Regions from separate parts of the Homo sapiens genome. Here region 2 is linked to region 1. Evidence: promoter capture Hi-C in human tissues and cell types (Jung and others, 2019). All regions are on one chromosome and are shown on one strand. Each heading gives the region's core, a stretch centred on a gene start or on the middle of the fragment in contact. The rest is flanking DNA. Distances are from core to core; before and after follow the strand shown.

The links. Contacts are between HindIII fragments. The study calls those that stand out against the background at their distance.
Region 2: a contact is called between a fragment that was not itself captured here and the fragment with the promoter of RPE65 in region 1, in 2 of the 25 tissues and cell types used here (H1 embryonic stem cells and adrenal gland).

What each region holds. Positions count from the first base shown.
Region 1 is chr1:68,448,704-68,454,131 of GRCh38, forward strand. RPE65 (retinoid isomerohydrolase RPE65) reads right to left here and starts at 1,251. Exons shown (of 14, transcript NM_000329.3): 1 at 1,192-1,251; 2 at 1-3. The coding sequence starts at 1,202. It overlaps LOC124904198 (a long non-coding RNA gene), which reads left to right. Exons shown (of 2, transcript XR_007066164.1): 2 at 1-2,820. The HindIII fragment of the contact is 15,503 bases long and covers 1-5,428 here.
Region 2 is chr1:68,401,369-68,407,407 of GRCh38, forward strand. No RefSeq gene overlaps it. Among named protein-coding and RNA genes, the nearest start is that of RPE65, 46 kb to the right of the region's middle. The HindIII fragment of the contact is 4,547 bases long and covers 1-4,044 here.

The DNA.
Region 1 (5,428 bases), core at 1-2,500:
ACCCTGAAATGGTGGAAGAATAAGGAAGAAGCCCATGTTGATGCTCAAAGTCCGCAGAGATAGAGGCAGAGCTGCAGGAGAGAAGGCACTCTAGGGCTGGCTCAAAGCCTGTTCACTCCTGCCGGTCTAGTCTCAGCTGGGTGGGGGTGGGGGTGGGGGGAGAAGCGAAGGTGAGGGCGGGAGGAGCACGTGAGGCTGGGGGTGGGGAAGACTACTCAGGTATGGAAGGGGGTCCCAGATCACTGCTCTGATGTCAAGAGACATGACCTCTCTTTTAATGTCAATGGTTACAGTGAACTTAATCCTGTCCTCTGCAGTTTTTCCTTACTTCGGAAGACAAATCAATCAATCCTACTGCCATCAGTTCACTTCCTGAAATTTGTTCCTAAACAGGGTCCTTCCCACAGTATTCTCCCACCCTATCAACATGCTCAGCTCACAGCATCATTGATTTTCTTGCCTCAAGGAGAGACCCATTTATCTCCTTCCTAGGGGTTGAGAGATGACAGCTTTTTGGGTCAGGTACCTCATCTTTCATTATTCACTCATATTATACCATAATTTTTTCCCCATCATCTCATTTCTCTACCAATCCCCAAGACCTACAGTACTTTTTCATCATAGTCAGACCAGGAGATTCAGGTTCTATATTTTTGTTTACTTTCTACATCCTCTGTTCAGTTTCATGTTGTAACTTCAAAGAGTGGAATCTCTGACCAGACTCAATTATAATAATTACCTTTTACTAAACAATTACTATGTCCTACATACCATAAAAAGAACTTTGCATGGTATTATCTCTTTTAAATCTCACAGTAACATAATGGAGTAAAAGCTATTGTGACATCTTTCTATATACAGGAAAAGCTAGACTTAAAAAGTTAGGTAATTTGTCCAAAGTCACACACTAGGAAATGACTGGGCAAGGAGTGGAGCCCAAGTCTGTCTGAAATCCCCATACTCAAGACTGCTTCCAAACCCCGGGCTAAGTCACACAAACCCCCCATAATTTGGACCTGAATTCTAGCTAGTTGCTTTAATACATAAGCAGGAAAAAATTTCCCCACCAAAATTCAAGGGTCTTTCCTAAACAGGTCATTAATCAATGCCTTCTCTTCAGGAGCCCTTGAAATAGCACATTTATCATGAATCCATGAAGGTGTTTTAAAAAAGTCTCCCAGAGATACTTACTGGATAGACATTTTCTTCCAGTTCAGGATCCAGAGTTCTGGCACCAACTGCAGAATGAAGAAGGAAGTTCTCAGCCAGGGGCCTTTTTATGCCTTCTAAATCCCTTAAAAGGAGTTATGGCTTTGGGAGCCCTTCCCCACCCCTTCAGCTGAGGGAGGGGGAACAGAAGTTGCTTTCAGCTCTCAGATCCCCCTGATGCTTGGCTTTATTTGGGCTTGCTGTTCCCATAACAGTTGTTTGGCTGTTTTCCAGAGACCTCAATCCTTCCCAAGGAGAATGAGAACAGATTAGAAAGAAAGGAGCTAGGTGGGAGTGGCCAGCGTCAGGCCTGAGCTGATCCCAGTCACCCCACTGGACCTTGGCACCATTCTCTGGGGCCCACCTCCCCCTAATACCTCTGTGCCTTCATTCTCACCCTCATTCATTAACTCACTTATTTTTAAAAATATCTATTACATACCACCTATGAACCAGACAGAGATGGGTATTGTCCCTGTCCCTGTCTTCACAGATCTTATAACTCTGTAAGAGTTATAGTAAACAAAGTATTCAACCATGTTTGATTAGTGCTAAGATTGGAGAAGTATAAAATGTTATGGAAGCACATTGTGCACCTCTAACCCTCTCTAGCAACCTTATTGATACCATTCAGTGCCAATATTCTTCCAACCAGGTTGAGGACTTTTGATTTGCTGAGAATGAAATTCTGCATATCTTTGCTTGTCACTAATGCCTGTCTGCTCTCTGCCTCACCTTCTTGTCCATTGGTATATGTTTGGCACTCTGAGAGTATACAGCATCAATTCATTCATATCTCCAATACTCTTTCATTAAGTCTCAGTTGCTTGCCAGCACAGACAAGGTACTGCCCAAAGAAGTCCTTGGAAAACAGGCAAGATATATACTATACCAGCTAACAACCTTAACATTTTTTTTGAGAAACTCATTAACAATTTTAAATTTAGTGTGCAGTTATGGCTACTTACCCTAGGGGTCTTCTTCAACAAAACTGTATAACAATTAATCCAAGTGCTTCCCAAGATATACAACAGTAGCTTCATTTCCTTACAGTGAGGGCATAGGCATGTGATGGGCTCCACCCGTTAGGGACAGTGGTAGAAGTCCTAATGGTAGCACCTGGGGCTTAGCATCCATAATATCTCTGCCCATCCAAGGCAGTTGTAGTGTCTCCATTCAACAGTGGAGCCCGGAATATTGTTACTGGCTGGGTAGCCTCCAAGCTCCATCCTTTAGCCATCCCAGAGATTGTTAGCTCTCTAATATTTACAATATTTGCGTTCTGCTTTATTAGAGTTAGTTCCATTATTTGCAGCTAAGAGCCCTATGCCTATAAAATGATGGTAGTATAAGATACTACCATCATATTTTGGGGGGTATAATCACTTTTGTTGGATCTTGGAGAGTAATAGAAGAGGAGATTAATATCTATCTTTCCACATTAAAAGACCTGTTTCCAAAATATTTCAAATAAGAAACTTCTCCTCAAAGTACAAGGATAATCCAAATCTTCTTAAACCAGCAATAAAAGCATAAAATTTTTATTTAGAATTAAAGCAAATACTTCTGTATCACAAACACAATATTAAACTTCAATAAATATACCACTAATTTGGAGTGAGCACTTATTTGCACAATACCATACTTTTTTTTTTGCTATGAGAATGCTTTATTAGGCAAAACCATATACTATGAAAGTGCTTTAAAATGCAACAGGAGGAGATGTGAAGACACAAAGAACAAGTGCCTAGTGACACATGGATATCAGAACACACCAAGTAAAGTATCCACACTGCTTCCACCCTTTACCAAGAAAAGGAAGGATCTAGGCCACCTCCTCCTCGTCACCGTAGGATGCTGTGGTACCACCCAGGAAGAACATTGATACTGGCATTAGGAACCTCCAGGAGAAAAAGGAAGTATCTAAGCTGAGATGGGATAAATATATAAAAGTTAGCCAGTCAAAGGGCAGGTAGAAGAGTGTTCAGGCACAGCTTGTGTTATTTATAAAAGTCTAGAGGCTAACATAAGGTGGGAAAATAGCTAGAGATGAAACTGGACTAGAGATAATCATAGGCCAGATTGTGTAGAACATCATAAACTAGGCCAGGCACAGTGGCTCACGCCTGTAATCCCGGCCCTTTGGGAGGCCGAGGTGGGCAGATCACGAGGTCAGGAGATCGAAACCATCCTGGCTAACACGGTGAAACCCCGTCTCTACTAAAAATACAAAAAATTATCCGGGTGTGGTGGTGGGCACCCGTAGCCCTAGCTACTCGGGAGGCTGAGGCAGGAGAATGGCGTGAACCCAGGAGGCGGAACTTGCAGTGAGCTGAGATCGTGCCACTGCACTTTAGCCTGGGTGACAGAGCGAGACTCCATCTCAAAAAAAAAAAAAAAAAAAAAAGAACATCATAAACCATTTACAGAAATCCAGACCCTTGTCATGAGAAAAGGGGAATCACTGAAATATTTTATCCAGAGGAGTGACATGATCTGATTTGCATTTTAGTAGGACGACTTAGAATGCATTGTGGATAATATACTGGAATAGGAGATTTGGGCAAGACAAATTAAAGGGAGGCACAGATCAAACAAGTGGAGATAGCTGTTGTAAGCAGGTACACTGAGGGATGGATACGAATAGTGAAATTCAAGAGATACTTCAGAGGAGGCCTAATCTAACTCTGGGACTGGTAAATGTGTTGGGGAAATAAAAGGCATAAAAAAGGATTACCGGTGGGTTTCTGGTTTCTGGTACAATTCATTCAGATAATGCACACCGTGTGTGTGTGTGTGTGTGTGTGTGTGTGTGTGATGTTTCAGGGATACAGAGAAAATGAATTCTGATTGTGATTTGAACTTATTTATTAAAGGAGAAGATCCCCGGGGCCTGTAATCATTTGAGAGCCTAATAGGGAGGCTGAATGAGTTAGCATCTGAAGGATAAGCTCAGTGTTGACATAGAAAAAAGATGGAGGTGGCATTCTTAGGGAAAGATGCAGAGTGAGAGAAGGCAGAGGAATGAGCATGTTAGAAAGACTTTCTCCTGCAGCATTTTTGTTGGATTTTATTTTCTCAGCAGTCTCTTCTCTTCGAGAAGAGCTACAGGCCATGTTGTCATACCTGTACACTGTCAGTTCATTGGAGAGAAATTCCACTAATATCAAGACCCAGCAGCTTTTTAAAATTTTCACCTCTCCCCTCCCATTACAAGAGGCTGAAAGAGAAGTCTTTGTCGGAAAGAAAGCGTATACTAGTTGAGAGAGAGAGCATTAACAAACTGCATTTAAGTTCACCTCCTGGGAGATGAGAATCCGGTCTTGCTGGTGCCCGTGTCTGCACCAAGTGCCTTTCTTAGATATCCCTGTGCTGCCTTTGGTGTTCTGGGGCTATAACCACATTGTTTAAGAACAGCAACTGGTTTTAGCACTTTTTGCATTGTTTTGCGTCTGTGGTATCCTTTATGCTTCAACGTATAGATCCTAGAAGTCAGCTTCTTGAAGGATATTTCTTTTAAAAGTACAAATCATGGCAATTCATTCTAGGAATGCTCACAAACCCGTAGGCCATATGAATCATCAAATTAGTACGCTTGGAGAAATTCAGGATGAAAACTAATTTCTGTGTATTAAATTTCATTGAACCCTGAGCTCCTCAGGTATAAGACAGGGAAAATATGCAAAAGCATTCTTTAGCCAGAAGTATTCCATATGAATATTAAGTAATGCTTATTAATGTCAATTCTCAGGAAGTTTGAGAGTGTCTAATCTTCTAGCTACTACTTCCTACCTCAGAAGTAACCCATTTTTTTCTTATTCTGCCATTGGTGTGAAGTTAAAGATCAGATGTCCACATCCTTTCAAAGCATGATTTTGACCTCTTTGCTCCTATATCCTCAAATGTAGACCTCTTTTCTAGGTCTAACTTTATCTTTCTGTGGTTTCAGTGTGATACACCGGATCCCCAATGTATTGTTACTTCTCTTTTCATCATCTCCTTTTATTCCTTCCCCACCTTAATTTTTTGTCTTTTGGTAAAATCAGATCTTTATGTCCAATTTCTGTGTCTGCCTAAGAAACTGTTATTTTGACATACTTTGGTGTATTTACCAAAATAATATTCCATGAATTAAAATAGCAAAACACCTTTCTACAGAGATTTCTAAATAGAAACTGATTCCACATTTCTTTGAAGAAACTGGTTTAGAGGGTATTAT
Region 2 (6,039 bases), core at 521-3,020, 47 kb before region 1:
AAATTTAAATATAATAGACAAATTTCTAGGAAAATAAAATCTTGCCAAAAGTGACAGAAGAAAAAATACAAAATCAGAGAAATGTTATAACTTCTAAAGAAACTTAATGTATAATTAAACATTTTCCATATAGAAAACTTTAAGTGCAGCCAGCATTACCAATGAGTTTTTTAAAATACAGTCATGCATCACTTAATATTGAGGATAGATTCTGAGAAATGTATTGGGTGATTTTATCATGGTGTGAATGTCATAGAGTGTACTTACACAAACCTGGATGGTATAGCCTACTATACATGTAGGCTGTAGTCTACAAACCTGTATAGCAAGTTTCTGTAGTGACCTACTGTAGGCGATTGTCACACAATGGCAAGTATTTGTGTATGTAAACATATGTATACATAGAAAAGGGACAGTAAAATACGATATAATCTTATGAGGCCACCATCGTGTATGCTGACTGAAACGTTGTTATGCAGCACATGACTATATATAAAGGAAAAAGTAATGCATCTTACATGAGCTTTTCTAGAAAATAGAAAAATAGAGAGTGCTTCCTAGTTTTTTTGTGAGATCTACATAACCTTGATAATGAAATCTGACAGGAGCTTCAAAAAAAAAGGGGGGGAATCTCAGGTCAATCTTTTTTTCACATACCTAGATAACAAATCTTATATAAAATATTGGCACACCAAATCCAGGAATTTTCTAAAAAGAATAATAGAACAAAATCAACCTGGTTTATTTCTAGTAATGCAAATTTGGTCTTTCAGTGGAAAATTAATGGAATTCATCACATCAACAGACTCTAGAAAACTCATATCTCCTTAGACACAAAAATCATTTGATAACAATCAATATCCATTCATAATAAAAACTGTTAGAAAATCTGAAATAGAAAAGAACATCCCTAGTTCAGTAAAAAGTATTAACGAAGAGAAAAAACAAGCAAACAAAACCTGCTGAAAGCCATTCATCTGAGGTTATGAACAAATCAAGTATGCTCACTGTCATCACTTCAGCCTTATACTGGTGGTCCAAGCCAGTGTAATAATGTTATAAAAAATAGGAATGGAAAATGAAGAAATAAGTTACTATTTTAAGGATTTCAAAGCAGCTTATTAAGTTACCTGAACTACAAAAAAGTAATTAAAATTAAATGTACATAAAAAACAAGATAGCAGAGTTAGAGTAGAGACATAAAATAGAATCAGGGATGAGACTGTAAAAGATAGGTACCACAACATCTTACAGGTGTCCAATCAGTGGGACACAAATCTGATTCTAACCTTTCTAATAGCTATCAGCAAAATGAATTCCAATCAATTTTACAAATCATATGAGATTAAAATGTTCCAGTTGCCTAAGAGAAATATAACCCTTTCTAATGCCAAGGTCAGGTAAGATTATTTCTTGATAGAAAATATAGACAAAATGTGCACTGGGCTTGTGAGAACATAATTATTTTCTATCATCTGGGCTTAAATTTTTATCTATAATTTTATATTTTGAATGGAAAATTTTCATGTTTATACCCTAATTTGTTTCCATTTAGAGTCAGTGGTGGTGTTGACTATCTTGCATATTCTGGAAAAAAAGCTTACAACCAGGTTAGAAATATTTTTCTCATAATAAATTATAGATTTCTACCTGAAGAGCCTGTGAAATATGATGACCCTTTATACAGCCTAGAAGAGCTAAATGAACTGGCCCCTCAAGGATTTGAGTCTCTTCTAGATGTTAAAGGGGTAAACAAAAAAAATCCATTTGCTTCTAAATGGATTGCCTGGACAAATAACTAATCATTCCTACTAAAAATTTTGGTACACTTATGCAAAATATTTACCTAAATTATAAAATGTGACAACAAAAATTAAAGCTTAGTGATAAAGAATACTTATCTCTTTTATAAAGATGTGATATAAATAAATTTTAAACATGATTGATCAACTAGAGACTAATGAGTTATATTCTAAGTGTGATGCTTTTTCAGGCTGATGCCAATTTAATGGGGCTTGATGACTCCTGTTGAAATCTGATTTTTTTCCCTTCAAACTCTGTTAGTATGTTTTAAATACCCGAGCAAAGGAAAATGCTAGAAATGTCTGAGAATGTGTGAGTGCCCAATCCCAGGATCCTATGGAATTAGGAAAAGTATATTTCAATGAAGGAAGTTTTCAAAAAAGTGTCAAGAGTGAGCTCTTATAAAACAGAGTAACAGTGGTAGTCACAAAATAGCCTTTGGAATTTGATGATCCTGATTTTGAGTTCCCTTTTGATCACTTCTAAAAATGTGATTTTGAGTAAGTTATTTACTGTGTATGTCTCGGTTTCTTTATCTAAAATGAGTACATTCATAACATCTTTTTTCATAATATTATTATACAAATTTAGCCAGATATTCATGTAAATTGTCTGGCTCATGTTAAAAAATGATAGCTATTATTATCGGCTGTTACGCAGGTGCCAAAACTTGTAGCAGAAATTGCTATTATTTGACAACACCAAAAAGAAAAGGGTCTGGCCATTATTTTAATGCTTTACCAGGATTTGTATTCCTTGGAATGACTGACACATACATATTTGTTGAGTAAACAAATAAATTAATGTCTGGATATAATCAGTTTTTAAACCGTTTGTTCATTCGGTCACTCATTTATTCAGCAAATAATCATTGAGTACCTCCTATGTGCCAGATGAACTTACATGGAAGTGGAAGAGACAGATATTAATTAAATAAACTCAAATGCAAATTTAAAACTCTAACTGATAAGTTTCTGCAAAGTGCATCATGAGGACATTTTAATCAGTTGAGTCGGCATGCATATGTCGCATGCCTTTTGTAGATTTTGAGCCAGTTGACAGATGGGAAGTTGAGTCCAAGAGTTCAAAGCAGAATGTGAAACAATGCTTGTAAAGGGTTTGGCTCATCTGGAGGGGTTTATTTTGCATGAACACATCTTTCTTGTAAAGCTAAGCTACAAGAGCCTCTCTACCAAGGCGAATCTTTTCACTTATAACTTAGATCTGCTCTCTAGCCTTCACTTCTGACAATAACATGAGAGAACTAAGCACCTTTATGGGTGAAGTAAAACTTCAAGTTAAATTCCATCAGAGAGAATGATATGATGTGAGTATTTGTTCCATTCCCAGGGACAGAGAGGGTTCTGCAGTGGGAAACTTGTTTCAGCACTGAAACCTTCCACAGCTCAAAGTAAAAATGAATGCTATTCCAGTTGTTTTAACATACTTTCACTTTGCTTATGTCAGGCAAATTCATTTTCTCCAGGGAAAGCTCATGTTTTAGTGCTTGAGTTAAAATCTTTCAAGATAATTAAGAGGCAAATTATCCTGTATCATGTATCATCATCACAGATAGTTAATGAATATCCACTGGTTGTGTTTAAATGTGCTGGGCACAGTCATGAATTTTTAATTTCTGGAGAGATGTGAGAACAACTGGCTTAATAAATTCAGTATTATTGTCTATATGTTTCATTATTTTCATTATTTTAGAATGACACCAAAAGCCTGTTGGACCAAGAATGAATGGTGTTCCTTGACCAGGTGTTCTAGGAAATAATTTAAACAGATGTAATTATAGTAAACTACAAACAAACCTTCCAATAACTATGTGAATTGTTCCAACTAAGCTGAAATGGTAATAAAATACCCTATTTTGAGCTTTCACTATGTGCCAGGACCTATTCTAATTGCTTGACATATATTACTTTATTTGATCATCAGAATAATTCTATGAAATAGGTACTGTAATCACCCTTGTTTTATGGGTGAGACTAAGTCACAGAATAGTTAAGAAACTTGCCAAGTCATTAACTGTGAATGGTGAAGCTAAATTTTAAACCTCAACAATCTGGTTTCAGAAACTGTGCTCTTAACCAGTATGATGTACTAGTAATAGTAGTAGTGATAGTAGTAGTAGTAGCAGCGGCAGCAGCAGCAGCAGCAATACGGGAATGAGTAAAAGGAAGGAGAGAGGAAGAGGAGAGGAAAGGAGAAGCAGGAAGAGAAGGAGAATAATTCGGAAGAGATTAGAAGTAGGATTAGTAGTAGAGTGATAGCAGCAGCTTAATACTGAGGAGCAGCAGAGCTGGTGGTGAACAGTGGAAACTCTGGAACCAGATAGCCTTGGTCCAAATCCTAACTATAATCCTAATAAGAAGTGAGATTTTGGGCAAGTCACATAACCTCTTTGTACCTCAGCTTTCTTATCAGTAAAATAGGGATTGGGAAGGATGAAATGCTATAACACATGTGAATACTTAAACTGAACCCTGGCAGATAGTAAGTGTTCAATATATGTTAGCTGTCAATATTGATATTATTGCTATCTGTTCTGTACCCTTAAAATGAATAGCACAGACATGAATGAGAAATCCTTTTCTTTTTACTTCACTCATCTTTAACATCCCCATCACATAATCCTTGCTTAGCTTAGTGTCTTTCTTTTTCTCTGCATCCTAGGATGCATTTTTCAGGAAAATCTTTTTTGCTGGCTCCTGGAGATATATCTTACCTGTTTATACATATTATAAACTTCTCCAGAGCAGAGGCAGCAACACCTTAGAAATATTGAGCTCAGTAGGTGATGAGACAATCCAGGTGACCAGAATAAGGAAACTAAGGCATGCACCTGGGGCTGTGGCCAAGCCCATCCTGGAGGTCTGTGGGGGGTGTCTTCTCAGATAGAGCAGGCTGGCCATCCACATGGGCACTTACGAGAGTCAGGGGCAAGGCCCAAGCAAAGAGAGCAGCTTTAGCGCTGGGCCTTTATCCTTGAGAAGGAAGAGTGTGGGTGGGGAAGGAACATCTTGGTGACAGCAGTAATACGCTTGTTGAGACTGGCTTTCCTTGTTTATGAAAATACAAATTAAAACTTCTAGCTGGGCTCTGGGGCTCATGCTTATAATCCCAGCACTGTGGGAGGCTGGGTGGGAGGATCACTTGAGCCCAGGAGTTTGAGACCAGCCTGGGTAACACAGGGAGACCCCATCTCTACAAAAAATGGAAAAAACAAATTAGTCGGACATGTTAGCGCTCATCTGTGGTCCCAGCTCCTCAGGAGGCTGAGGCGGAGGATTGCTTCAGCCAGGAGGTTGAGACTGCAGTGAGCTATGATTGTACCACTGCACTCCAGCCTGAGTGACAGGGGCAAGATTTTGTTTCAAACAAACAAACAAACAAACAAACAATCAATCAAACAAAAAACTTCAGTTCCTCAGTCACACTAGCCACATTTAAAGTGCACAGTAACCATGTGGCTCTCATTTATGGCACTAGACAGCACAAAATAGAACGTTTCCATCATCACCGAAAGTTCTACTGGTCTAGACAGTACTTGGTACACAGTGGTTGTTCAATAAATACTAGCTGAGTGAAATACTTGAAAGAACAAAGAATACTTGCCTTGCATACTTCATAGCATTTTTTTTGAGAATCAAAAGCTCTTTTCAAATGGTGAATGGCCTGAACATGTTGAAGAGCTTTTATTTCCCTTATGGCTTCCAAAGAGTTACATGGGGGACCTTGTGTTCTATGGATGCACAGTGAATTTTTAATGCTGGTCATATGCTGAGGATGGTGTTTCCTCGTGGCTTCTGTTCTTGCAGATACACAGACCTTCCCTTTTGATTGCAGGAAACAGGGGGAACTTAACATAACTTATGACCCCGTTTGTTTCTCCTCCTTTTCCCAAGAAGCCCGCTCTGATTTTTTGATTCTCCATTCCCAAACCCCACTGGGACTCCTCCTAAGGCATTTTGTGAAGTGAGTCTGTATTAAGAGAACAATGTGAATTGTGTGTGTGTGTGTGTGTGTGTGTGTGTGTGTGTGTGTGTGTGTTGGAGAACAGAGCTGGTAGTCAAGGGATTTGTAATCCACTGGCAATGGTTTCCCGAGCAACCTGTGTAGATGACAAAACGCTGCTTTCAATAATAGAAGTGAAAGTGACCTTACCTTTTCTTTGGCATTGGCCTCTAATTTGTTTCTTTAGTTTTTGATTTTTAAACATTACTGATA